Regions from separate parts of the Homo sapiens genome. Here regions 1, 2, 3, 4, 6 and 7 are each linked to region 5. Evidence: promoter capture Hi-C in human tissues and cell types (Jung and others, 2019). All regions are on one chromosome and are shown on one strand. Each heading gives the region's core, a stretch centred on a gene start or on the middle of the fragment in contact. The rest is flanking DNA. Distances are from core to core; before and after follow the strand shown.

Region 1 (3,254 bases), core at 646-3,145, 410 kb before region 5:
AAAAGGTGGCAAGAGAACTGAGTTGATGCATATCAAATACTTGTGCTTAGCACATAGAAATTGCTCAACTCAACAAATGTTAGTTTAGAGGAGGCCCTTAATAAATCTAAGTTCCCTTTTCCCCTCTCGCTTTCCTAAAGCTTCACCTAAGCCAACAGCTGGACAGAGGCGGAAGCTTGCCAAGAGAGTCAGAAGAATCTGGACTCCACACCGCCTGCTGCAGGGCCTGCTGGCCTCACAGGGAGAGGGAGGAAGGGGGGTCCACCCTGGCCAGGTGCACTCTGGTGAGAGCAGCCCACAGAGGCCTTGTGGTCTCCCAACTTCCTCAGTCCTTAGGATGCTAACAGGGCTGTAGCAGAGCGAGTCCTCAAAACCAAGGGGCTTCCCCACCACTCTGAATCCACCAGCAATCTCTGCCTCTGCACGGCACCCAGGGCAGGGTGGTCCTTCCCCGCTTTTCTATTCCAGACCGTCCATGAACTGCCTCCATTTCCTCCACCCACCCCCAACATAGCCTCCTTCATGGAGCATATACACATGTGCAAGTGCATATGTTCAGACCCACACACACACACACTCACACTCATACACACTCACACAAACACATCCATACACACATGCACTCACACTTACACACACACTCCCACACATACACACCCACACATGCACTCACACTCATACACACACTCCCACACAAACACATCCATACACACGCACTCACACTCATGCACACTCTCCCACACATACCCACACACACACAAATATACTCTCACACATACCCCTGCATACACACACATCATACATACACACCACATATACACACACACTCCCACACATACCCCTCACATACACAAACCAATACACACCCACACATACACTCTCACACACACCCCACATAAACACACACCCACACATACATTCTCACACACACTCCCACACATACCCCCCACACCTATACATATACACCAACAGAAACACACACATACATACATGCACATACATGCACACTCACACACACACTCTTTTCCAGCTTTGTGTTTCTGCTTCTGCCTTTTCAGTTTCTTTGATTTCCCACATATGGATTTCCTGCCCTGCCTTCTGAGGGTGTTGGGCAGGTGAGAAGCCCTAAGATCATGTTCAGAGCTGAAAACATAATCACCAGATTGGAATACTGGAGATGAGATGGTAGAGAATGGCTAGTTTTAGCTTTTCTCATTAACACGGGGTGGGAGCAGATGACCTTTTCCTTTTAGCTGACAGCTAGTCTGCTGGCCATGGGCACACCCTCCTCCGCAAAGCCTCTTGTGATCTCCAGTCTGACTGGACACGGCTTCTTGCTGCGCCCGTGATCCTAAGCATGGGGTGTGGGTGGTAGGGAAAAGCCTGGAGCAGGGCTGCTTGGTTGAAATCTTGGCTCTGCAAGTTATTTGGTTTTGCTGTGCCTTCATTTCCCCATTTGCAGAGTGGGGTCAGTATTTGCCCTGATTCTTAGGGTTGTTAAGAATATTCGATGAGGAGAGCCACATCAAGTGCTTGGAATGCCTGTCTACTGATCATTACTGTTACCAGCGCGATCATGGTTTTGATCATGGAAGCTCTTAGCCCACTGCACTGTGATCGGTCTAGGAAGTCCTGTCGCTTCCCCCACAGGTTTCGCAGCAAACGGGCCAGGACAGTTATCTCAGGCAGCCTAGAGAACGCCTACAGTGTGAGCAAAGCCACTGTTTAAAGTGAGGTGATACTTTATTCACCAAAGATTCCTTTACTTACAGAAAGTCCCCCTTGAACTTATGATTTGAATTTTAGACATTTTACCCAATCTCTATCTTTCTCTCTCTTTTTCTCTCTCTCTCTGTCTCTCTCTCCTCCCCGCCCCCAGCCCTCTTCTTGCATAATGTGAGAAGAGGCTTTCAACAGCCAAATGGAAACCCCCTTTGTCACCTTGTAGGCGTGTGGCATTGGGACACTGAAGTTAGCAAATCGGCCAGTGACTCATCAGTTTCCTCTCCATAACTGGGGTGTGGTTGGGGGATGGGGCAAAACTGGCACTTGGCAGGAGGCCTTGGCACAGTTCCCAGGCAGCATTCCTTCTGACCCGTCAGTGACCATGTCCTACCCATTAAGGAATATTGTAATGATCAGCCCTGGAGGAAGGAGCATTAAGATTTCTGCTCTGACTTCAGATGTTTTGATACAATTTGGGTAGCTCGAGTTCTCCATCCCTGACAATGAAAATGCCCAGGAATGTCAGGGAAGCGCGTTTTCTGGAAACCTACCTCCCTGAGACCTGTCTGGCCTGCACAGGGGGGTGGACCGTGTGGGAGAGAGGGGATTGTCCCTCTCTCCCCAAGGTCAGCTCTGGCTTGCGGAGTAATGGCTCGTGTGAGTGATGTGTGTGCAGGACTCCATTAGGGGCCCGGCTGTCCAGCTGTCTTGTGGCAAGTGTCTTTGCAGAGAGGGGCGAAAGGAGCAGATAGCTCCAGAAATGGAGAATAAAGAGACCATTGCTTTCTGCTTTCTGGCAAATTCTGCCAAAATACTGCAGAGAATGAAAAACTTTGAAGGAAAACCCCTTTATCAGCTATCCCATGCCTTGTGGCCATTGATTCCACGAGCAGGTGTTTCTGAGAGCTGGAAGCTGGCCTGGCCCTGGCCTCTTTCAGGAATAGAACATGTGAGGATGGTTGGCTTCACCACCTCCAAAGGGACCTCGGGAGGAGTAACCTCCCAATGGGGCAAGATTACTCACCATGACGGGCAGCTCAGTGCATGGCAACAAGCGTATGCTCTGCTGGGCAGCCTTCTTGGCTGGAAAACTGGCTCGTGATTCTGACTGTGACTCTCCCTCCTACACTTTCCAAGCCAAGAGCCTCCCCCAGATTTCACATGCCTCCCGCATGGCACCTCTGTTCTCCTGCTGCCACCACTCAGACACCCAGGCGTGAGGATTACTCTGAAACCCTGATGCTTGGCCATACCTGCCCCACCATTTCTGAGGCTGCCATAATGAATCACCACAGACCAGGTGGCTTAAAACAACAGAAATGTATTCTTTCCCAGTTCTGGAGGCCAGAAGTCCAAAATCAAGGTGTCAGCAAAGCTGTACTCCCTCTGGAGACTCTAAGGGAAGATTTATTATTTGCCTCTCCCAGTTGCCAAACTCCTTGGCTTGGGGCCCCATCTCTCTGCTCCATGTACACGTTGCTGCCCCCTCTTCTGTCTTCTTTTTTGTCTCTTATAAAGACACGTCATTA
Region 2 (3,409 bases), core at 350-2,849, 330 kb before region 5:
AAACAACTGGAATGTTTCTCTTTTCTGATAACTAGAGCAAGAAGATTTAATCATATTTCCCCTTTTGTCCTTGCTGCTAGGAAGCCCACAGCCAATTGAGATTCTAAATCCCAGCCCTCATAGAATATTTTTTTTCTATTTTTATTTCATACTGCACATATGTCCTTTGTTATGGTCTCTTCAAAACCTTTTGAGAAAGCAAACAAGAAGAGGGGAGAGAAAGGGAATGTAAGAAGAAAGACATTGATCTCACAGCTCAGATAATTGTCAGATCAACAAGTCCTTTCTTTGTAAAATTGATCAAACTTGGTTGGAAAATTTGGGCATTCTCTTTTACTATGAGGGAACGGGTTTTTCTTCATTAATGAGTGAGTCTTCTTCACTCTCTTGTCTTCCTGATGTCCCCAGAGCTGTTGGTCCCATCAGTAGTTCCGGAACTGTGCTCAGGGAACGTGTTAGTTGCTGAGGGGTTATGACAGTTACAAAAGCTCTTCTGAGCCCTGGTGGAGCCAGGCTGTCATCAGAAATCTCTCCTGCCCCATTTTGACATGGTGGCAAAGAATTCCTCTCTTCCGTCTGGCCTGTCCAGGGCTGTCCTTACTCCAGGTTTCATAAACCAAGGTTCAAGAAGTCCACAGATAGAACCCCCAGGAGTCTAGAGTTCCATAGAAGAACTTTATTGATTGAGTGTTTTTATTTTGGTGATAATCTTTTGAAAAATGATTATCCATTTCTGGATCATCAGGTCTGCCCCGGATAACCTAGTTCTGCCATATGAAGTCGTGGTGCCTGTGTTCATTGATGTTCTTGGTGGTTCCGTGTAGCTCCATTTTTATTGTCTTGGGCTAATTGGAAATGAGCAGAAAAGGAAAATATATACATGATGAGCTTTTACCAAGTAAAGGTCAAATGAGATTCCAGCGTGCCGAGTTTCACAGTAACTAGGAATGAGGAAGTGGTAAGGAAACCGAGTCCTCATGCAGCACAGAAAGGGAAGCTCTACTCCAAACACCCTGACCCACAGCAGTGAGCAAGCATCTGCGTGGTTTCAGGCAGGGCTTTAGTTCCAGTAAAACATCACCCCTCATGTTAATGTTGTGCATTTGAATGTTTATGTTTGTTTTGAACTTGTAGTTGTGTACCTGGTTTTATATTTCTGCACTTTTTTTTTTTTTTTTTTTTTTTTTTTTGTTGAGACTGAGTCTCGCTCTGTCACCCAGGCCGGAGTGCAATGGTGCAATCTTGGCTCACTGCAACCTCTGCCTCCCGGGTTCAAGTGATTTTCCCCTGCCTCAGCCTCCCCAGTAGCTGGGAGTACAGGTGTCTGCCACCATGCCCGGCTAATTTTTGCATTTTTAGTAGAGACAGGGTTTCACCATGTTGGCCAGGCTGGTCTCGAACTCCTGACCTCAGGTGATCCACTCGCCTCAGCCTCCCTAAATGTTGGGATTACAGATGTGAGCCACCGTGCCTGGCTTGTGCACATTTTAGTACCATTTTATTTTTAATAATTTAAATCAACACTAGTCTGAAAATATTTTTATTTTTTGAGACAAGGTGCTTACTGTCACCTGAAATTATTTTAAAATTAAAAAATTATAAAAACCAATTAAAATGTATTTTTAAAAACATTAATAGTAGAGGCCCAGGTGAATTTCTCTCTTGGATTTGAGAAGCATTCTCTTGACCCCTACCCCAGAGTCTTCCTGAGGGGAAACTGTGTGTGCCTTGTTGTGGCAGGTGCACCATTTGCCCCTTAAACTGCTGTGGAGAAGAAGGAAATGGAGGGGAAAGAAACCTCAAATACCAGGTTTAAAAGCCCCACTGAGTTATTTTCCGCCTCTGCAACTGAATGTAAAATGATATGCTGGTGTCATTTCCATTTTTCCTGCCTTTGTGGTCCTGAATGCAGTATTAACTGGCATGCTACCTCCCTGGGGATTCAGGTGGCCAGAAAATTGTCTCCAGCTCAAAAGAGGTTGGGAGGGTGATGAGGGGGAGATCCCCTTATTTCTCTGCTCATCTTAGTAACTTATTGCCTTCAGAATTGTCCTTAGTGATTCAAATGGCAGAATTGATGGGCCCTGTTTCCTTCCTAGTCCTTTCATTTCCTTTAAACACAGGTTTGGTTTTGTTTAATGGCATTGTTCAATAGCCCAAGAGGCCCATGAATGCTTCTCTTAGGGTGATGAATACATCGGCTAAGAAGTCATGAATTGCAAAGGTCAGAGTTTTCCTATTCAAAATAATTATTAATTGAATCCAGTGACCTAGGGCTGACCTGCAACAAAATTACAGAGCTGGTGAAATTTGTCTTTGAGATTCCTATCCAGGCGTTCTTTTTCAGATTTCTTTTTTCTTCTTTGATAAAAGAATGCCTACGTATTAACTACCTGTTTTGTGCCATACCTTGTCCAAATCCTGTACTAGAGTTGATCTTATTTACTGAATGCTGAAATGTACCTTATTTGCTGTAGTCACCACCCCTGCGGGGTAGGTGGTACTATCCCCATTTTGCAAATAGAGGAACTGAGACTCAGAAGGGTAAGGCTCTTGCCCAGGATCAAGCCCAGACCTTCTTATTTCAAATCTTATCTTCACTGTACTTTACAAGTACCCTAATACACTGTCCTTATTCTTCTATATAAAATAGCCTCTTATATGATGTTATCTTCTCTTTAAACTTATAGTTTAGTACCAACTTGCTCAAAGTTATCACTTGAATGATTGACCTCCTCTTTTAGGTTCCTGAGGCCATCATAACAAATTACCACAAACTGAGTGGCTTAAAACTAAGGAAATGTATTCTCTCACAGTCCTGGAAGCCAGAAGTCTGAAATCAAGCTGTTGGCAGGGCATGCTCTCTCTGAAGGCTCCAGAGGAATGGATCCTTCCTTGCCTCTTCCCAGCTGCTGGTGGTGGCCGGCAGTCCTTGGCATTTTTTGGCCTGGAGACACATCATTGCAGTCTCCGACTCTGTCCTCACGTGGCATTCTCCCTGCGTGTCTCTGTGTCTCTGCTTTCTCTTCTTATAAGGACACCACCCATTGGGTCAGGGCCCACCCTAATCCAGTATCATCTCATCTTAACTAATTACACCTGCAAAAACCCTATTTCCATATCAAATCACATTCTGAGGTTCTGGGTGGACATGAATTTGGGAGGGACATTATTTGTCACAGTACAGCTCTATGAAAGAACTTTATGATAATCAACAAACAATTGGGAAATTTATTTACTTATTTATTTATTTATTTATTTATTTATTTATGTATTTTTGAGACAGAGTCTCACTCTGTCGCCCAGGCTGGAGTGCAGTGCCGCGATCGCGGCTCATTGCAACCTCCGCCTCCTGAGTTCTAGCAATTCTCCTGCCTCAGCCTCCCGAGTAGCTGGGATCACAGGCACC
Region 3 (3,602 bases), core at 1,048-3,547, 390 kb before region 5:
AAGATGATGAAGTCATTCAAGGATTGCATTTCTTCCTGAGTGGAGGACCTGGTTCTAGGCACAGCAACTTCCCCCAAAGCAGCTCCTGTTCACCGTCTCTGCAGTTTCACCCACAGAGCGAACCTCGGTCCGCAGTCCTCAGAGCGTGCAGCCCACGAGCACAGCTGCTCCGACGCATGCAGTGCTCCCTGGCCAGCTCATCCTCACTCTGAAGTCGGGCATTGTCCATCCAGACAATGTGTTTGACTGCCTACCACCTTCAAGACATTGCATTAGGAACCAGGGATTTGGCGTGACCGGCAAAAATAGCTAACACTTTCATAGCATTTGCAATTTGCCGAGTGATGTTTTCAGTGTTTTGCATATATTAACCCACTGAAGCCTTACAAACCTCTGAGGGAAACTGTTGTTATTTTACAGAGGAGAGAATTGAGACACAGAGGTTAAATAACTTACTGTATTAGCCTGCTCTGACAGGCATAATGAAACATCACAGACTGGGTGACTTAAACCAGGGGTCCCTAATGCCCCTGGCCACAGACCCGTACCAGTCCCTGGCCTTTTAGGAACCAGGCCCCACAGCAAGAGGTGAGTGGCAGGCGAGCAAGCATTACTGCCTGAGCTCCACCTCCTGTCATATCAGTGGCCTCATAAGATTCTCACAGGAGCACAAACCCTATTGTGAATTGCATATGCAAGGATCTAGGTTGCATGCTCCTTATGAGAATCTAATGCCTGATGATCTGAGGTGGAACAGTTTCATCCTGAAACCATCCAACCCCGCCCCTCCCACCCCCATCCATTAAAAAAAAAAAACAAAAAAAAAACTGTCTTCCATGAAACCAGTCCCTGGTACCAGAAAGGCTGGGACTGCTGACTTAAACCACAGAAATTTATTGTCTTACTGTCCTGGAGGCTGGAAGTCCAAGATCAAGGTGGCTGCAGGTTGGTTTCTCCTGAGGCTTCTCTCCTTGGCTTGCAGATGACTGTCTTGCTGCATCCTCACTTGGTTTTTCCTCCATACACACACATATCTTATGTCTCAATTTCCTCTTCTTATAAGGACATCAATCAGATTGGATCAGGCCCCGCCCCCCAAAGAACTCATTGTATCTTAATTACCTCTTTCCAAATCTTATCTCCAAGTACAGTTACATTCTGAAGTGCTGGGGGCTAAGACTTCAACATATAAATTTGAAGGGGTCACAGATCAGCGCAACACGCCCAGTGTGACACCACTGAAAAATGGAGGGCTGAGATTGGAACCCAGAGGCCATGCTCTTAAGCTACTATGCCATACCTAGGGTAGCAGTACTATATAATTTATCCTCCAAATTGGGACACTTTGAGAGGGAAGGATCGTCATTAATATTTGTGCTGGGTCAACAGGCATAAGATGAGGCTGTCTCAGGCACACCAGGATGTGTGGTCACTTAAATTACACAACTTCTTAACTCTGACAGAATGGTGCCTGCCCTTGTGGAGTCTACAGTCCACTGGATGGGAGACAAGAAAGTGGCAATGCTAATGCAGCATGCCAAGTGTCAGGACATGGGGGTTTTAAGGGACCATGAGAAGTTGGGAGCACAGAGAAGGGCCCCTGATTTGGTCTCTGGGGGTCAGGGAGGGCTTCCTGGAGGAGGCGACAACTAAGATGAGATTGATGGATAAGTAGGAGTTAGCCAAAGTGAAGTACATAGTGGTGAGAGCTGAGATGGAATGGATACCAAGGCCTCAATCTAGAGATTAGGCCTCTGGGCTCGGGCACACCCCTACTCTCTGGGACCGCTTATATAAAATGAGATACAGTTTACATCAAGGATCTGTCACTTTTTCTTAAAAAGTCAGATAGTAAATATTTTAGATTCTGTGGGCCAAGAGGCAATATCAAGGATATTACATAGGAACTTGTATAGTTACTTAAAACAAAACCATGTAAAAATATGAAAATTATTCTTAGCTCCAGGACCATATTAAAACAGGCAGCTAACTGGATTTGGCCCGCACATTTATCTCAAAGTTTGTGGTCTTACCCAGCTTTATGGCATATCTATTCATCAGAAAGCTTTGCCAGGTATTGTATAGACCATGGGGCAGGGGGTAGCTTGTATCATGGACGTACCTACATTAAAAGCCCCCAAGAGCCAGCAAAAACCCATATTCAAACCTACCTCCACTCTCCAGCCGCAGTCCAGCCCCAGCCAAGCCACTTAACCTCTCTGAATCTGTTTCCTGATCCTGTGGAATGTGGGTAATAGCACTGCTTCTCAGGGCTGCTGTTAGCTGCCTTCTCATTCCTCTTACTCAGCATTCATCAAACACTTATCCTGCACTGGGCGCTGCACCAGGCCCCGGAGTTCAAAGGTGGCCAAGATGCCACTTTTGAAAAAAATGTTTTTTGAATGTGTTTTTTGGTTTTGTTTTGTTTTTGTGGTCATTTTCTTAAAAAACCTGGGTGTGGTCAAGAGCACAGCCCCCTGTTTTGACGCTGCATTAGTGGAGGGAATGAGTTTAACGAAGCGGGTGACTTCACCTGGGTCACCTGCCAGGATTCTATCTGGGGTCACAGTTACTTCAATAAAGTGAAGCAGGAACGAGGCAGAGGGGACATGGGCCTTTGTGAGAATGAACGATGGAAACTCTTTGAACTCCTGGGATAGAAAGGCCAAGCTGTCACTAGAGCTGTTCGTGATGGGAGAGTGATTAAAGCTCGTTGGAGTTTCCTGCCTTCTTCTGGCATCAGAACTTTATGCCTGCTCTGTGTTCGGAACCAGTGCAGCTCCGAGTCCTGAGCTTTGACGTGGGAATCAGATTTCCCTGGGCCTGAGTCAGATTCTGGGCCCCACAGAAGTCAGTGGCTCCCATTTGGCTGAGGGGGTTCCCACCGGACCCTTTGCTGGGTAGAAAACACAGCAGCCAAGAAAGATCTGTTGGTCCTTGAGTCAGCTGTTGAGAAATGGAGCCACAGGGGATGCTGGGGGGTTCTCCGAAGCTTGACACCCTGCCTTCAGATCCTGGCATCATCATTTGGCAGGAACACGTGTGGCCTTTCACAAGCAACAGGATTTCTTTGAGCCTCAGCTGTCCCATCTGTAAGATGGACATGGTGTTGCCTTCCCAACTGGCTTGCCCTGAGACTAAATTTGGAAATTGCCAACATTCCTCGAATGCTCCTTATGTGCCAGCTATTGTGGGGAGGGCCTCAGCTCAGCCCCCTCCAAGGCCTGATAGTTTGAAGGCACTGAGGTAGAGGTTTTGTGTCTGTTCCTAGAATTAGGCAGTTTGGTTCCAGAATCAACATCCTTAACCATTAGATGACACTGTCTGTGAAGAGAAAGAAAACTCATGAAAACACAATTCACAACACAATGAGTGTGTGTGTGTGTGTGTGTGTGTGTGTATGTGTCCTTGTGGTTTGCTTATTGAACAAGCATTTCCTGAGCACCTACTTTGTGCAAAGCCATGGAAACATAAAGATGACTAAGGCACAGTTCCCAGCTGCAAGCGGGGAGCTTCCAGACATTTCTATCTTACCTCAGAGCTAGTGATAAGAATAGGTTCCCTCACTCTCACTTCCACCCAGCATGTGCCTTAGCTTACAA
Region 4 (3,606 bases), core at 675-3,174, 350 kb before region 5:
TCCTTCTGTTCGCCTATGTGCCATAAGCCAGACCCCAGCAAGGCTTCTCCCAAAGACGTGGGTGCCTCAGAAAGATGAAAGCAGTGATCCCTATTTCCCTAAGGGCCTCCCCAGCCTTTGACAGGGTCCTGGCAGAAAAGCTAGACTCAGTGGCTGGTTTTCGTAAGTTTTGACCCCAGGGACATTTATAGATGGCCTGAAAACTAAATCAATGGATTTTACTTACTTTTTAAAAATTCACCTTTCATCACATTAGAAATAGACCTTCTTGCCCTATCTCTGAGTCTCCTCACGTCTCTTCTCCCTTCCCCAACCCACCCTCTAAGGGTCTAAGGGTGAAGTAACAGGCGGGAGTGCCTGTCATGCACAGCACTAGGTAATAAAACACCTTTTGGGGCTTAGCCACCAAATGTCCCTCCTGTCCAAGTGTCCATATCCAAACCTGAGCTCAGTCAGGTATCCGATTGGTGTTGCTGTCACCGGGGCATTTGCCACACCCAGGTGCTCACATCATCTATTGATACCCCCAGTCTCCAGATTCTTTTTGGCATCCTCCTCCCCAGCTTCCTAATCACTGATGAGACCAGATGGCAAAACAAATGGGGACTGATTTTGCAGTGACATCGGAATTGGAAGCTTTCTTTCTGGAACTAAGTATTAAGTATTTTTTTTAAGCACTTATTTCCTTACATGTAGTTCACAAAGAGGGCGTCAGCCCTGTGCTTTGAACTTGACATGCATCGTCTCACTTAATCTTTGCTCCACACCCTTGTGTAGTAGGTATGACCAGCCCTATGAGAGATGGGGAAACTGAGGCCCAGACCAGTGAGGTGATGTGTGCAAGGTCACGCACTGGGATTCCACCCATGCACCTTGTCTCCAGGGTGTGTCCTCTTCCCACAATGCTGTTCTGCCACCGGGTTCTTTAACTGGAAGATGATGTAGATAAGACATATCTTGAATGTAGCTGTGGAGGGCATGAGGCCAGACTGTTTTTGCTAGATGCAAAATCTGGAGTCTAGCTTTCCAGATCCCACAGGGAAAAGACCTCAGAGTAGATCCAAGATTTCCCCATGGCATGGAAGAAAGAGGAAAGGGGACATTTATAAGGCCTTTGTGGGAGGCAGTAACACTGACTGTGGGTATCAGGAAAGGGCCTTGCCTGATTCTGGGGGCACCTTTAAACCCAGCAAGTTCCCCCGTGTTCAACCCTCCCTCCCAGGGCTGCATGATGGAACCCTTGAACCAGGATCAGTTGTTGGGAGTCGCAGCCAACACTTTGACACACACTGTGTTTCAGGCAGTCTTCTGAATGCTTTGCATATTCTGTGAGGTTGGTACTTCCATTAGGTGGGTGCAAAAGTAATTGTAGTTCTTGTCATCAAAAGTAATGGTAAAACTGCAATTACTTTTGCGCCAACCTAATACTATCCCTACCTTATAGATAAGGAAGTTAAGGCACAGAGAGGTGAAGTAACTTGCCTAAGATCACACATCATTAAGTAGGTGGCAGAACCAGATTCAACCCAGGGAGATTGGTTGGCTGCACTGATCTTATCTATACTGCCTCTGAGGAGGGGAACCCTGCTTTTGACGTTGTAAGGTAGGAGGAGTTGGGTGATGGGTCTGGTTTCTTTGAAAAGCCAGCGGGGGGCGCTTTGAGCCTTCTGATGATGCCATGATGGCTGCCATGCCCCCATGGCCCAGCCCTGGCAAAAGTGTGTGCCTGTGGGGGCTGCCCAGGAATGTGGGCTTATGCCTCCTCCCCGCCACCACCAGCAATCTCTGTAGCTTTTGGCTGGGCACTGCTCCTCCAAAGAAGGCAGCAGGGCTTCCCCTGCCAGGAGGGCCAGCTTCCGCCAGCAGAGCTGCTTATTGAGAGGTACCTGGTCAGCACTGGCGCCAGAGGGGCACAGGGAGGTGTTTGCTCAGGCCCAGCCCATGCTTCTCTGCAGAAGTGGACGTGCTTTTCTGTTTATTTTTCTTATTTAAAAATTTTAAATCCAACTATCTTGAAATAGTTGGAGGTACAGAGCTGCTTGAGGAAAATTCAGCCCCAAAATTCATCAGAAAGATGGTTGGCCTCAGGATCACAGGGGCACGATCCCTCCTGAAGGACCAGCAGTTCCGGGCCCTGTGTAGGCACAAGATGAATGTCATTCATTTAAATCTCACCCCGGGCCCGTTGTATAGTTGCAGAAACTGGGGCTCAGAGAGGTCAGCTTGCCCAAGGCTGTGCTGCTAACAAGGGCAGGGCTGGACCTTAAGATCCGGACCCAAATGCCTGCTGTTTCTCCCGCCCCTAGTTCTGAATACGGTCACAGGTGGAAAACGGGGTGGCCTGTGATATTCCAGTCCCATGTTTCTTACTTTGCCATGGGGAGGAATGAGGACCTGGGGTTATTGCCCTGTAGTTCATTCCACCCTTCACCCCATGGGATACCCAGTCAGCCACCAACAGCCTTTCCTGGTAGGCACTCAGGGAAGTGCCCCAGGGTGAGGAGGATTTGTGAGAACTGGCGCTCTGCCTCCTGGGAGCTTTATGGCAAAGTAACAGCAAGAGAACACAGACAAAAGACAGATAATATGGAGATCCAGAGGAGGAGGGTTTGGGATGCTTAGACAAGGGTGGGGCCTGCGTTTATCTGATAAATAACACAGTGATTCTGTATCATCATCGTGTTGTTTACGTGAACCCTGCCAGGCACCACATGCCCTCATCAGGGCAAACTGCAAAATTGCCAGGTTTGCTTCTGTTCTGCAAACATTTTTTGAGCTCCTGCTCTGGGGGCAGGCATGGTGCTCAACACAGGGGATTCCAGGATGAGCAAGGCAACAGTCCTGAACTTCAGGGAGCAGAGGTAGGGATCTATGGGTAAACAGACAGTTACAGTATGTTGTGAGAAGAGAGTAAGCTCCAGAGTCCAGTTACCTGGGTTCAAATCCTGGCTGCACCACCGGCTAGCTTTGTGACTTAAATGACCACCTCTCTGGGTTTCAGTTGCCTCATCTATAAAATGGAAATATAATACGTCTCTACCTTGTAGGAGTGATAGAAGGACTAAATGTGATTACACAAGAGCTTAGGACGATGCTTGGCACCTGGCACTCAAAATATATTAGCTCTTCTGGTGGTGCTGGTGGCTGTGCTGTGAATGATAACAGCAATAATGGTAAAAATAATAATACCACGTTCTATAAGAGAGATGAGCCTAGATCACTGGCGGAGCACCAGGAAAAGGGGATACCTGACTGATCCAAGCCTGGTGGTGGGGCTGGGTCATCCGAGACATCATCTTAGAGGAAGTGAGGAATATGGTGAGGTCTGAAAGCCCCACAGTTAGCGGGAAGAAGAGAGTGAGCAAATCCAGAGAGACTTGGGGGCAGGGGACTTGCTCCTGGGCAGGTCCCTTAGGTGCAAGAAAGCGCAGTACTTCTAGAGAAATCACAGGGGTCCAGTGCCCTGCATGGGACAGGGCTGCTGAGAGACAGAGCCTGAGGGGCTGGCAGGGGCCAGGATGCAGATGCTGGGTGCCAGGCTCAGGCATCTGCGCTTTCCATGGAAGGCAGTGGGGACTCGTCATGGGTTTAAAGCACAAGGACAGC
Region 5 (3,602 bases), core at 531-3,030:
ATGCGGGCAAATAAGGTTTCATTTCTTTTGAGTAAATACCTAGGAGTGTGATTCCGGGGTCATATGATAGGTTTATGTTTAACTACATATAAAACTGCCAAACAGTTTTCCAAAGTGGCTGTACCATTTTATATTTCCACCAGCCATGTATCTGTTTGATTTTGAATAATTCTTATAAAACACAGTCCAGAACATTTTCTACAGGATAAAACATCCCACATTTTTCATTCACCACTCAGTAGCTTCCTTTCGACCACTGAGGAAACTGTCTTCTTCCCAGCCATGAGTATCACTGCTTTTCCATATGCACCCCTGCGTACAGTTAGACCCTGATCACGCCAGTTCTTCCCCACATCCATAGTTTTGTTTATGCCATTTGCCACCTGAGATGTTTACCTTTTATTACTGAAATCTTATGCAAACCGCACTATCAAAATCTTTTCATTCTGCAAGACTTCCTTCTGGTCACCAAAAAAGACAAGTCAGTGAAAGGTGTTGACAGAGGAGGCCAACAAAACAGGCTCAGGCATTGGGCACAGCCCGTTGCTTTCTGTGCTATCCATCTGGGATCCCATGTGCCACGTGGTGGGGGAAGCTAATGAGGGGTCCAGGAGAGCAGGCCAAAGTCCTAGCAGAGCAGGTCTTCCCCACCCCCACCCCTCGTTTTATAAAAGGTGACTATACCTCAAAGTAACTAGAACTGGTTGCAAAGAGTAAAACGAATTCTTATTATTTGGGGTTGTCTGGGATACAGAAAGCTTTTCCTTTGATGCAAGTTTGGGCCAGTTTTTGGTGCTACTCAAGACTTCTCTCTGCCTCCAAGTTTTTTACATCTGAATATATACATATGTACATATGGCTTTGGCATGGCCGAGAAAAAGAATCGATAAGCAAATTCTTTTATGTACTTCCTATAAAAGATACGATACATAAGACAGTTTTTATTTTTTTTTTTTCTCTCTCTCTCTTCCCTAAACAGTCCCGAGGCCCCCTGGGTGCTGAAGGCAGCACCGCAGTGCAACGTGTCCTCTCTCGGTTCCATTTCTGGAGGAGCTGATGCAATTCCAAGGCGCGGGGCTGGGCCAGAGCTCGGTTCTTGTGCTACAGTAGAATAGTGTTCCAGCGTGGCTGCCTCTGCAGCGCCTGGCAATTCTAGAAATTTTGCCATCTGCAGCTCAGCTCAGGAATACTGAGCTTGCAGCCATCAGCTTTGAGTGCCATTATCTGAACCGGCCCTGCGTGCCAGTCTCGAGCGCTTACACCTCCCAGGCCGCCAACGAGGACCCTATTGACTTGATACTCCCCTCCTCCAGGAGACAGTCTCGGTTCCATATGGCTCCAGCTCTTGACCAGGGATCTCATGATTGAAGTGAAAAAGGAAAGGAAGCAGACTCTGTCCTCCTTACCAAGTGACTGTTCCCACCTTGCCATCCCAGCCAGACTTGACACGTCCAAAAACTGCATCCTCAGCCCCCTCCCGGCAGAAGACAATGGCCTGCGTGCCAGTTCCCATCCGGGACCCTCCCCAAGCCCTCCTCTGAGGTCTCTCTGTTTTTGTTTGTTTGTTTGTTTGTTTTAAACGCTGTCTTGGTGTTTAGCAAAGTCTAAGCATCGCTGCTCATCCCCAGCCCCACCGCCCCGGCCCTCCCGCCCCGGAGTCTGGAAACCAGGACAGGGTGACAGCCGGGACGCTCGCCCGGGCCGGACTCACCCGGCCAGTGGAGAAGCGCCGGAGCGCCTGGCTGCCCCGCCGCAGCATGCTGGAGAGGAGCGCTAGCACTGGCGACGCGGCAGCGCGGGAGGCAGGCGGGCGGCGCAGCCTGGGCGCGGCCTGGGCGCGGCCTGCAGTCTGGATGCCCCGGACTGCCTGGCTCGCGGCTCGCCGCTCTCGGCCTCTGCTAGTCCGCACCCCTCCCAAAGCCCACAGCCCGCGGCCCGCCCCACCCTACCAGCTGCAAGGCCCCGCCCCCTAGCTGTCAAGACCCCGCCCCCAGCTGGAAGGCCCCGCCCCGCCAGCTGGCTGCGTTCGGACAGCCAACCTGGTGCGACCCGGCGGAGCGCGTGGGCTTCCTGGAGCCTGTGGGCCCTGACCCTGGTGCCAAGAGCGCACCCAGTCCCAGGGACCGCGCCTCTCCGCTGCCTGGACTTTCCGCCAATTCCAGCCAAGGTCCAGGTGCTTTCTAACTGTGGGACCCTCTACCAGTTACTCAGCCCCGCAGCAGTGTATACGGATCTACCTTATTAGTGGTCAATCTGACATCCCAAGTGCTGTCCATAGCACAGCCCGTAAAAGGCACGCCTGTAGACAGATAGGTAGTGGGGGCGCCTTCGCTGTGGAGGGATCCTGATGCCTACCTCGTAGGACGGTAGGCCGGGCGCGGTGGCTCCCGCCTGTAATCCCAGCACTTTGGGAGGCCGAGGAGGGAAGATGGCCTGAGCTCAGGAGTTCGAGACCAGCCTGGCCACCATGGTGAAACCCCGTCTCTACTAAAAATAAAAAATAATAAAATAATAAAATAATTAGCCGGGCGTGATGTCGCATGCCTGCAGTCCCAGCTACTCGGGAGGCTGAAGCACGAGGATCACTTGAGCCGGGGAGGCGGAGGTTGCAGTGGAGCTGAGATCATGCCACTGCACTTCAGCCTGGACAACAGAGCGAGACTCTGTCTTAAAAATAAATAAATAAATTGGTGCAAAAGTAATTGTGGTTTTTGCCACTGAAAATAATGGCAAACCCGCAATTACTTTTGCATCAACCTAATAGATACGTGCCCTTCTCCCTCACCTCTCTGGAAAAAACGCTCAGACCTGCTTTAGCTGGACGTTTATCTCAAGCCAGACTTCTTAGCCCAGCATTCAGGGCCGTCTGCAATTTGCCATTTTCTCTTATTTCTCACTGCTCTTTTGCATATGTAATTCTGCTTGACTGCAGTTCTTGCCTATTCCTTCTTGGACAATGTTTCCCAGAAAAGCTTGTCATCTGTCACTTGTAATTATCTTGGCACGACCGTTTCTTTTCTGAAAGGTACCGCTTACATGCTGCCTCCTGGAGGCGCTTTTTTCTGATTCTTTTCTCTCTTAGTCTCCTTATTCCCCATAAATAATTGTTCACTCCTCTTAACAGGAAATAATCTTTGTCTATGCATCTGTTATGGCTGTCTCAATCTGCTACTGGTATTTGTATACCTATTAACGTCTCTGTTGGAAGCTCCTTGCAAGCTAAGTCCATGTCTGATTAATCAGGATTTACAGTATCTAGCACTAACCAGAGCTTTAAAAAAATAATAATAAAATAAAAAATAACTTGTTAAAAAAAAACTTGTTGAAACGGATGAATGTGTTTAAGAGAGTAAGGAGACAAAAAAGAACCATCATTAAAACTTGGAGAATTGCGGTTGGGCGCGGTGGCTCACGCCTGTAATCCCAGCACTTTGGGAGGCCGAGGTGGGCGGATCACGAGGTCAGGAGATCGAGACCATCCTAGCTAACACGGTGAAACCCTGTCTCTACTAAAAATACAAAAAATTAGCCGGGCGTGTGGCGGGCGCCTGTAGTCCCAGCTACTTGGGAGGCTGAGGCAGGAGAATGGCGTCAACCCAGGA
Region 6 (3,413 bases), core at 890-3,389, 460 kb before region 5:
AGTGGCAAAATGAGCTTATTTTCTTGGCTGGTTTTGTTCATTGTTTGTTGTGTCAGAGACTAGCATAGAACATTGTGACTTTCTTTTCACTAACACAAAACAAAACAAAAATGATTGGGATTCAGGCCTAGATAATCTTGAAATAAAAACCAGGAGCTAGGAGAATGACAGTCAATTGCAATTGATAATTGAGTCTCCTTCCCCAGGATATTAATGGTGTAACTAAACCAGGGAGGAAGAAGTGATAAGTATCTTGTTAAGATAAGTCTTTGCCAAAAACAACCCATGGCAAATTGCTGCCATTTGTTATCTAATACTGAGCGCAGAGTGTAGTCTTTCTTGAGCCTCAGAAACCCTGCTTGTCTCTATCAGTTCATTTCAAATTTAACTTGCTAAATATCATTGTCCAAAGCCTTGGCAGACTTTCAAAAGCAGCGTTGTTGCTGATCTCAAGCTTGACACAGTGGGATCTTGGGGAGTCTCACAGACCACAGCCCCCAGTTTGTGGGGGCATCTTGATCAAGGCCTAGGCAAAGGATCTGTTTGGAGAATAAAAGCCAAGCCAGCCTCAAAGATGAACATGTGTGGCCCGGCCTGTTAAACCCAGTCAAGGCGATGGGCTGCAGACATCCTGTCTTTCTCTGGTGCTGTCCTAGACCTTGCCATTGGCCCAGGGCCATTCAAAACCCAAGGCCTACAGTCACGGCTTCCCAAGCTATGGTAGGCAGAATGCCTTGCCCCTTTTCCAAGCAATAAGAATATGTTACCTTATTTGGCAAAAGGGACTTTGCAAAGGCAGTTTAAGTTAAGGGTTTTAAGATGGAGAGATTATCCTGGATTATCCGGATGGGTCCAGTATAATCATCAGGATGATAAGGGAGGCAGGAGTGTCAAAGCCAGGAAAAGAGATGTTGTGAGGATGGAAGCAGAGCTTGGAGTGATGTGAGGAAGGGGGCCACAAGCCTAGGAATGTAAGTGACCTGTAAAAGATGGAAAAGGCACAGAACAGATTTTCCCTTGGAGCCTCCAGAAGGAACGCAAGCCTGCTAACCCCTTGACTTTAGGACTTGTGACCTTCAGAATGGAAGCAGTTGTTTGTAGTGATTTGTTACAGCGGCAATAGAAAACTAACATGCACACACCCCTTTTTAGTTGGAGCTAAGCTTCCCTCTCCCAAGACCAGGGTCCAAAGGAGGCCTGGGAGAGGCCAGGTCTGTGACATCAGGTAAGCAGTCCGGCAGCAGCGTGGTGAGTCTGGAAAATGGGATGCTGATGGTTGTGGTGATACTGCCTTTTTCAGAATTGTTTTGAGGATCAAGTGAGGTACTGTGAAAATGCCTGGCAAATCTAGGTATAAGCCGGCAACCCCGGTGACCCCCACAGGCACATCATGGCTTACATACCGGCAGGGAATAGGCTGAGTTGATACAACCAAAATCCTTGTACATATTCATAAGAACTCTTTGACAACCACACATTCAACCTGAAATTTATATCAGATCACAGTTTTGTGGATAACCAAAATCCTTGTACATATTCATAAGAACTCTTTGACAACCACACATTCAACGTGAAATTTATATCAGATCACAGTTTTGTGGATGGGTTCCTATAGGTAGGAGGTACTACCACTGTTTAGTCAGTACATTTATTTTTTTTAAAAGGACGGAGTAAATATTTGGAATTAATGGTGTTATATTTGTCAAGATTTTCCTTCATGAAATGATTATATAATTCTTACAGTATTCTCAAAGTACCCGCATAGAGACTAGCTTCATTGAAACTCACAATTCTCTCAAGGTTGGCAGGGGAGATATTATCTTCCCATTTTAGACAGTGCAAAGAGAAGGAAGATCAGAGTATTAAATAACTCTCCCCAGCCAAGTAAGCTCTTAATAAATGTCAGGTAAGGCTAAACCTGAACGTCGAGCCTAGAGAGGGCAAAGAGCATGCCGGTTCAGAGCAGACACCCCTGCCAGGCACTAGCTGGGTGACTTTGGGCAAGTTACTTAACCTCACTGTGCCTCAGTTTCCTCATCTCCCAATGTAAGGATAATGTACCTACCTCACAGGTTTGTTGTGAAGACTAAATGAAGATAATGCAATAAACGGCTGAGACCCATGCCAAGCACATGGTAAAAGTGTGTAATTGCGTATTAGCAGCAGCAGCCAGAGCAATAGCCAAGGGTCAATTAACTCCCAGTCCAGTGTTCAGTTCATGATTGTCCATGCATTAAGAGCCAAAGCACCCCCAAAGCCATCTCACCCTGCTGAAGCAGTCTAAAGTGCTCAACTAAGTTGGTGCATTAATCTCTAGACCAGAGGTCAGCAGACGTTTTCTGTAAAGGGCCAGACAGCAAACATTTTAGGTCTCTGTTGCAACTACTCAGCTTTGCCCTTGTGAATGAAAGCAGCCAAGACAATATGTAAATGAATGGGCGTGGCCAGATTTCATCCACAGGGGTTCCCTGCTTTAGACTGTGCCGAGAGCCAGAGGTCTTGAGTTCAAGTCCCAGCCTCACCACACTGCAAGGGTGTTCTTGAGCAAGTCAGGAAGGCTCCCCAGAGTCAGGCCCTTAGCCTCTAAAAATGGGAATAATAATGCCTCCCTCAAGAGCTGGTGAGACAATGGAAGCTGTTTGTAAACTGTAAAGTACCGTGCCTGATTTGGTTATTAGTGTTTTATTGCTGATGTACGGTCGAGGTCCAGGCCACCCGTGGTAGATAAAAGTGCATGTGGGCTGGACGAAGTGGCTCACGCCTGTAATCCCAGCACTTTGGGAGGCCGAGGCAGGTGGATCACCTGAGGCTGGGAGTTCGAGACTAGCCTGACCAACATGGAGAAACCCCGTCTCTACTAAAAATACAAAATTAGCCAGGCATGGTGGCACATGCCTATAATCCCAGCTACTCGGGAGGCTGAGGCAGGAGAATCGCTTGAACCTGGGAGGCAGAGGTTGCGGTGAGCCGAGATCGCGCCACTGTCACCCAGCCGAGATCGCCTGGGTGACAGAGTGAGACTCCATCTCAAAAAAAAAAAAAGTTCATGTGCCCTTGGTGTAAAATACTGGGCTCTATCTCACCGTCTCTGCTGTCTGCAGTTGCATTATGAAATCAGGAAAGGGTTATTTAATTTCAATCACTTTCAACTTGTTTTGGGGTATGAGAAACACACCAGCCTCTGAAAGCTTCCCGTTGCTGTCATGTGATGTTTCTCTAGCCACGAAGCCTTGTGTAGTCTGAGTTGATCTTCATTCTGAAAATGGCAAATGAACAGAATGACCATGATGAATGGGGGCTCCTGAGAAACACAGCACTCGTTCTCAGTGTCTCAGGCTGGGGGAGTGAAGCCTGCAGCCTTGATGGAGGGAAGGTATGTGGAAAATGAATTGCTGAGCGGAATCTCAGAGAAT
Region 7 (3,414 bases), core at 264-2,763, 440 kb before region 5:
ATGGGATAGAGGAGCAAGGTGGCCTGAGGCATGGGGAAAGGCGATTGTGGGTAAGAGAACATGAGGTAATTGGCAATCCATGCATACGTGGTCAAGCTTCATTGCCCTTCACGGAATAAGAGTTCAGAAAATGGTGGCATTAACATGATCTGAGGGAGTAGTGTTTGGCCCTCTGATGTCAAAAGGTCACCTCTCATGCCTTTGTGCAGGCCCAGTTGGAGGTCGGTGGTCTCAACCAGCTTGTGTTTGCAAAACACATACCTAAAAAAAGACTCATATACCAAATATACAGAGAACTCTTAAATTCAACAATAAGAGAACAAACAGCCCAGTTAAAAATGGGTGAAAGATACAAACAGATGTCGCCAAAGGAGATCTACAGATGGCAAGTAAGCATAAGAAAGGATGCTCTACATCATATGTCGTTAGGGAATTACAAATTAAAACAAAAATGAAATAACACTTAATACCTATTAGAATGTCTAAAATCCAAAACACCAGCAACACCAAATGCTGGTGAAGACATGGAGTAACAGAAATCTCATTCACTGCGGGTGGAAATGCAAAATGATACAGCCCTTTTGGAAGACAGTTTGGCAGTTTCTTATGAAACTAAACATCCTCTTATCATGTGATCCAGCAGTTGCACTCCTTAGTATTTACTCAAATGAGCTAAAAACTTATGTATCCACAAAAATCTGCACACAAATGTTTATGGCAGCTTTATTCATAATTGCCAAAACTTGGAAGCTACCATGATACCCTTATACAGGTGAAGGGATAAACACACTATGATGCATCCATACAACAGAATATTATTCAGCAATCAGAAATATGCCATCCAGCCACAAAAAGATATGGAGGAACCTGAAGTGCATATTACTAAGTGAAAGAAGTCAATCTGAAAAGGCTACGTTCTGTATGATTCCAACTATATGACATTCTGTAAAAGTTGGCAAATGTCTGTAAACAGCAGTAAATGACTATGGGGGCAGTAAAAAGATCAGTGGTTGCCAGGGTTTCAGGAGGTGGGGAGAGGGATGAACAGGAAGAGCACAAGGGATTTTTAGGACAGAAAACTACTCTATGCAATGCTTTAATGGTGGATACATGACATTACACAAAGAATGAAGTCTAATGTAAACTATGGACTTCAATTAATAAGAATGCATTGACAGTGGCTCATCAGTCACAACATATGTACCACACCAATGCAAGATATTAATGATAGGGACAGGAGGCAGGGAAATTCTGGGCAGAAGAGGGTTGGTCCCCAGCGAGGTCCCTACCCTCAAGCTGAAAAGCCTAATACTGTAGCCCAAAGTGAGACCTTACATCCCTGTTTTCCCGCTCAAATGTTGCCTGCCCCGACCCCCATCCTGTGCCCATAAATACCCCAGGCTCAGCCAACAGAGAGGGGAGAAGCAGCTGGACATTGGAGACTACAGTTGGATGTCAGAAGCAGCTTGACTTCAGAGGGACAGCTTGATGGCATAGCTTTAGAGATGAGTCCAATCGGGGACCACTGGACTCCAGGGGAAAATTACCTTCCCACTCCTTCCCCTTTTTAGCTCCCCTTCCTGCTGAAAGCCACTTTCACTGGCAATAAAATCCCCCACATTGGCCATCTTCAAGTCATTTGTGTGACCTCATTCCTCCTGGATGCCAGACAAGAACTCAGGTGCCACAAATGTGAATGCAAAAGGGTGTCTGTCACATGGACCATCCACTGAGCTGTTAACACTTAATCTGTCCATGGATGGCAAAGCTAAAAGGGCACTGTAACACTTCTTCCGGGGCTTCAGGGGTCATGGACACCCTCCCCTAGATGCTGCCACAGGGTCAGTACAGAGTTCGCTCTTGCTGGCACCCAAAAGCGTTCACCCCCACCTCCTGCACCCATTCACCTGTGTTCCCCCTCCTCTGAGGGGTGGAACAGTGAGTGAGTGGAATTTGCCCCTGCCAGCACCCATGTACTCCAGTTCCTGCCTGCAAAGGGGTCAGGGAAGTATCCTGCTTCATTAATAATGGGAAACTGGGGGTTAAGGTATGAGTGTATGTATATGGAAGCTCTATATACTTTCCACTCAATTTTTCTGTCAACCTAAAACTGCTCAAAAAAGAGAATCTATTAATTTAATTAAAAACAAAACTGGGTGGACCCTACCCACCTTCCTACCAGCAAACATGAGAAGGAGGATGGCTGTTCCCCAGTGCTGACGGGGGCACTCAACCTTCTGGGGGCAATTTAGCAATGGATAAGAAAATAAAAAGTCTGTAATCACCTTGATCTGGCACTTCTAGGAGTTTATCCTAAAGCCATGGTTCTCAACCAGGGGGGATTTTGCACCCCATCCACCCCAGGGAGGACATTTGGCAACATCCGAAGATAGTTTTGATTGTCAGAGCTGGGGAGCTGCTACTGTCCTCTAGTGGGTTGAGGCCAGGGATGCTGCTGAACGTCCTATGGTGCACAGGACAATCCTTACAACAGAGTCATCTGATCCTGTACGTCATTAGTGACACTTCTGAGAAGCCCAAATGAGGAACTGGGTAGGTACATAGTACTCATCTCAGTATTGTTCACAGTAGTGAGAAATTAGAAATGATCAAAATATCATGTGGCAGTAATTAAAGGATGGTATATCCATACTATGGGATCCTGTGCAGCCTTTAGAATGGCAGTATGGGAGTATGATCTCTAATATGAAAAAAAATGCTCATGAGACATACATGAAAAAAATTACAAAGCGACATGCATAGAAGAATTGTATCATTGTAAAGACAGAGTACCTATGCGCATTTCTTTTTTTACTTTTTACAAATTAATTTGATTTTTTTAAATTTTGAGACAAGGTCTTGCTGTGTCGCCCAGGCTGGAGTGCAGTGGCGCAATCGTGGCTTACTGCAGCTTCATCCTCCCAGGCTCAAGCAGTCCTCCCACTTCAGCCTCCTCAGTAGCTGGGACTACAGGCGTGTGCCACCATGCCTGGCTAATTTTTGTATTTTTGTAGAGATGGGATTTCACCATGTTGCCCAGGCTGGCCTAGAACTCCTGGGCCCAAGCGATCCTCCTGCCTCAGCGTTCACAAGTGTTAGTATTACAGCTATGAGCCACTACACCCAGCCTGTTATGTATCTCTGAGAAGACACATAACAAAATCTCAAGCCTGTGTCTAGGTGGTTGGAATATAGGTGGTTTTTAACTTTTAAAATTATTTTGGGGATTTAGATTTTTTTTTTTACAATGAACATTTATTACTTTTATAATTAAAACAAGAATACTTTTTAAAATTAAGAAATTATGCAACTAGATATGTAGTCAAGTAGAGGTTGCTTAAATACTAAGGTTTATTTTCAACTACTAATTACTTTCAAAAGTATTTTAAGGAACACATTGTCATACCAATTAGA

What was found. The method cuts DNA at HindIII sites, captures the fragments that hold promoters and counts their contacts. A contact is called where the count stands out against the background at its distance.
Region 1: a fragment that was not itself captured here is called in contact with the fragment with the promoter of ALDH1L2 in region 5 in 1 of the 25 tissues and cell types used here (lymphoblastoid cells).
Region 2: a fragment that was not itself captured here is called in contact with the fragment with the promoter of ALDH1L2 in region 5 in 1 of the 25 tissues and cell types used here (lymphoblastoid cells).
Region 3: a fragment that was not itself captured here is called in contact with the fragment with the promoter of ALDH1L2 in region 5 in 1 of the 25 tissues and cell types used here (lymphoblastoid cells).
Region 4: a contact is called between a fragment that was not itself captured here and the fragment with the promoter of ALDH1L2 in region 5, in 1 of the 25 tissues and cell types used here (lymphoblastoid cells).
Region 6: a contact is called between a fragment that was not itself captured here and the fragment with the promoter of ALDH1L2 in region 5, in 1 of the 25 tissues and cell types used here (lymphoblastoid cells).
Region 7: a contact is called between a fragment that was not itself captured here and the fragment with the promoter of ALDH1L2 in region 5, in 1 of the 25 tissues and cell types used here (mesenchymal stem cells).

What each region holds. Positions count from the first base shown.
Region 1 is chr12:104,669,910-104,673,163 of GRCh38, forward strand. The region is part of intron 2 of CHST11 (carbohydrate sulfotransferase 11); the gene reads left to right. Among named protein-coding and RNA genes, the nearest start is that of MIR3922, 80 kb to the left of the region's middle. RefSeq lists an enhancer at 1,502-2,106. The HindIII fragment of the contact is 7,265 bases long and covers 1-3,254 here.
Region 2 is chr12:104,749,267-104,752,675 of GRCh38, forward strand. All of the region lies in intron 2 of CHST11 (carbohydrate sulfotransferase 11), which reads left to right. Among named protein-coding and RNA genes, the nearest start is that of MIR3922, 160 kb to the left of the region's middle. RefSeq lists enhancers at 1,796-2,373, 2,363-2,412. The HindIII fragment of the contact is 6,008 bases long and covers 1-3,409 here.
Region 3 is chr12:104,692,075-104,695,676 of GRCh38, forward strand. The region is part of intron 2 of CHST11 (carbohydrate sulfotransferase 11); the gene reads left to right. Among named protein-coding and RNA genes, the nearest start is that of MIR3922, 100 kb to the left of the region's middle. RefSeq lists an enhancer at 1-22. The HindIII fragment of the contact is 5,274 bases long and covers 1-3,602 here.
Region 4 is chr12:104,732,240-104,735,845 of GRCh38, forward strand. All of the region lies in intron 2 of CHST11 (carbohydrate sulfotransferase 11), which reads left to right. Among named protein-coding and RNA genes, the nearest start is that of MIR3922, 140 kb to the left of the region's middle. The HindIII fragment of the contact is 7,646 bases long and covers 1-3,606 here.
Region 5 is chr12:105,082,678-105,086,279 of GRCh38, forward strand. ALDH1L2 (aldehyde dehydrogenase 1 family member L2) reads right to left here and starts at 1,781. Exons shown (of 23, transcript NM_001034173.4): 1 at 1,712-1,781. The coding sequence starts at 1,759. RefSeq lists enhancers at 624-1,424, 919-1,158 and a silencer at 1,659-2,088. The HindIII fragment of the contact is 4,053 bases long and covers 1-3,602 here.
Region 6 is chr12:104,620,690-104,624,102 of GRCh38, forward strand. All of the region lies in intron 2 of CHST11 (carbohydrate sulfotransferase 11), which reads left to right. Among named protein-coding and RNA genes, the nearest start is that of MIR3922, 31 kb to the left of the region's middle. RefSeq lists an enhancer at 3,064-3,413. The HindIII fragment of the contact is 4,525 bases long and covers 1-3,413 here.
Region 7 is chr12:104,639,571-104,642,984 of GRCh38, forward strand. The region is part of intron 2 of CHST11 (carbohydrate sulfotransferase 11); the gene reads left to right. Among named protein-coding and RNA genes, the nearest start is that of MIR3922, 50 kb to the left of the region's middle. The HindIII fragment of the contact is 7,114 bases long and covers 1-3,414 here.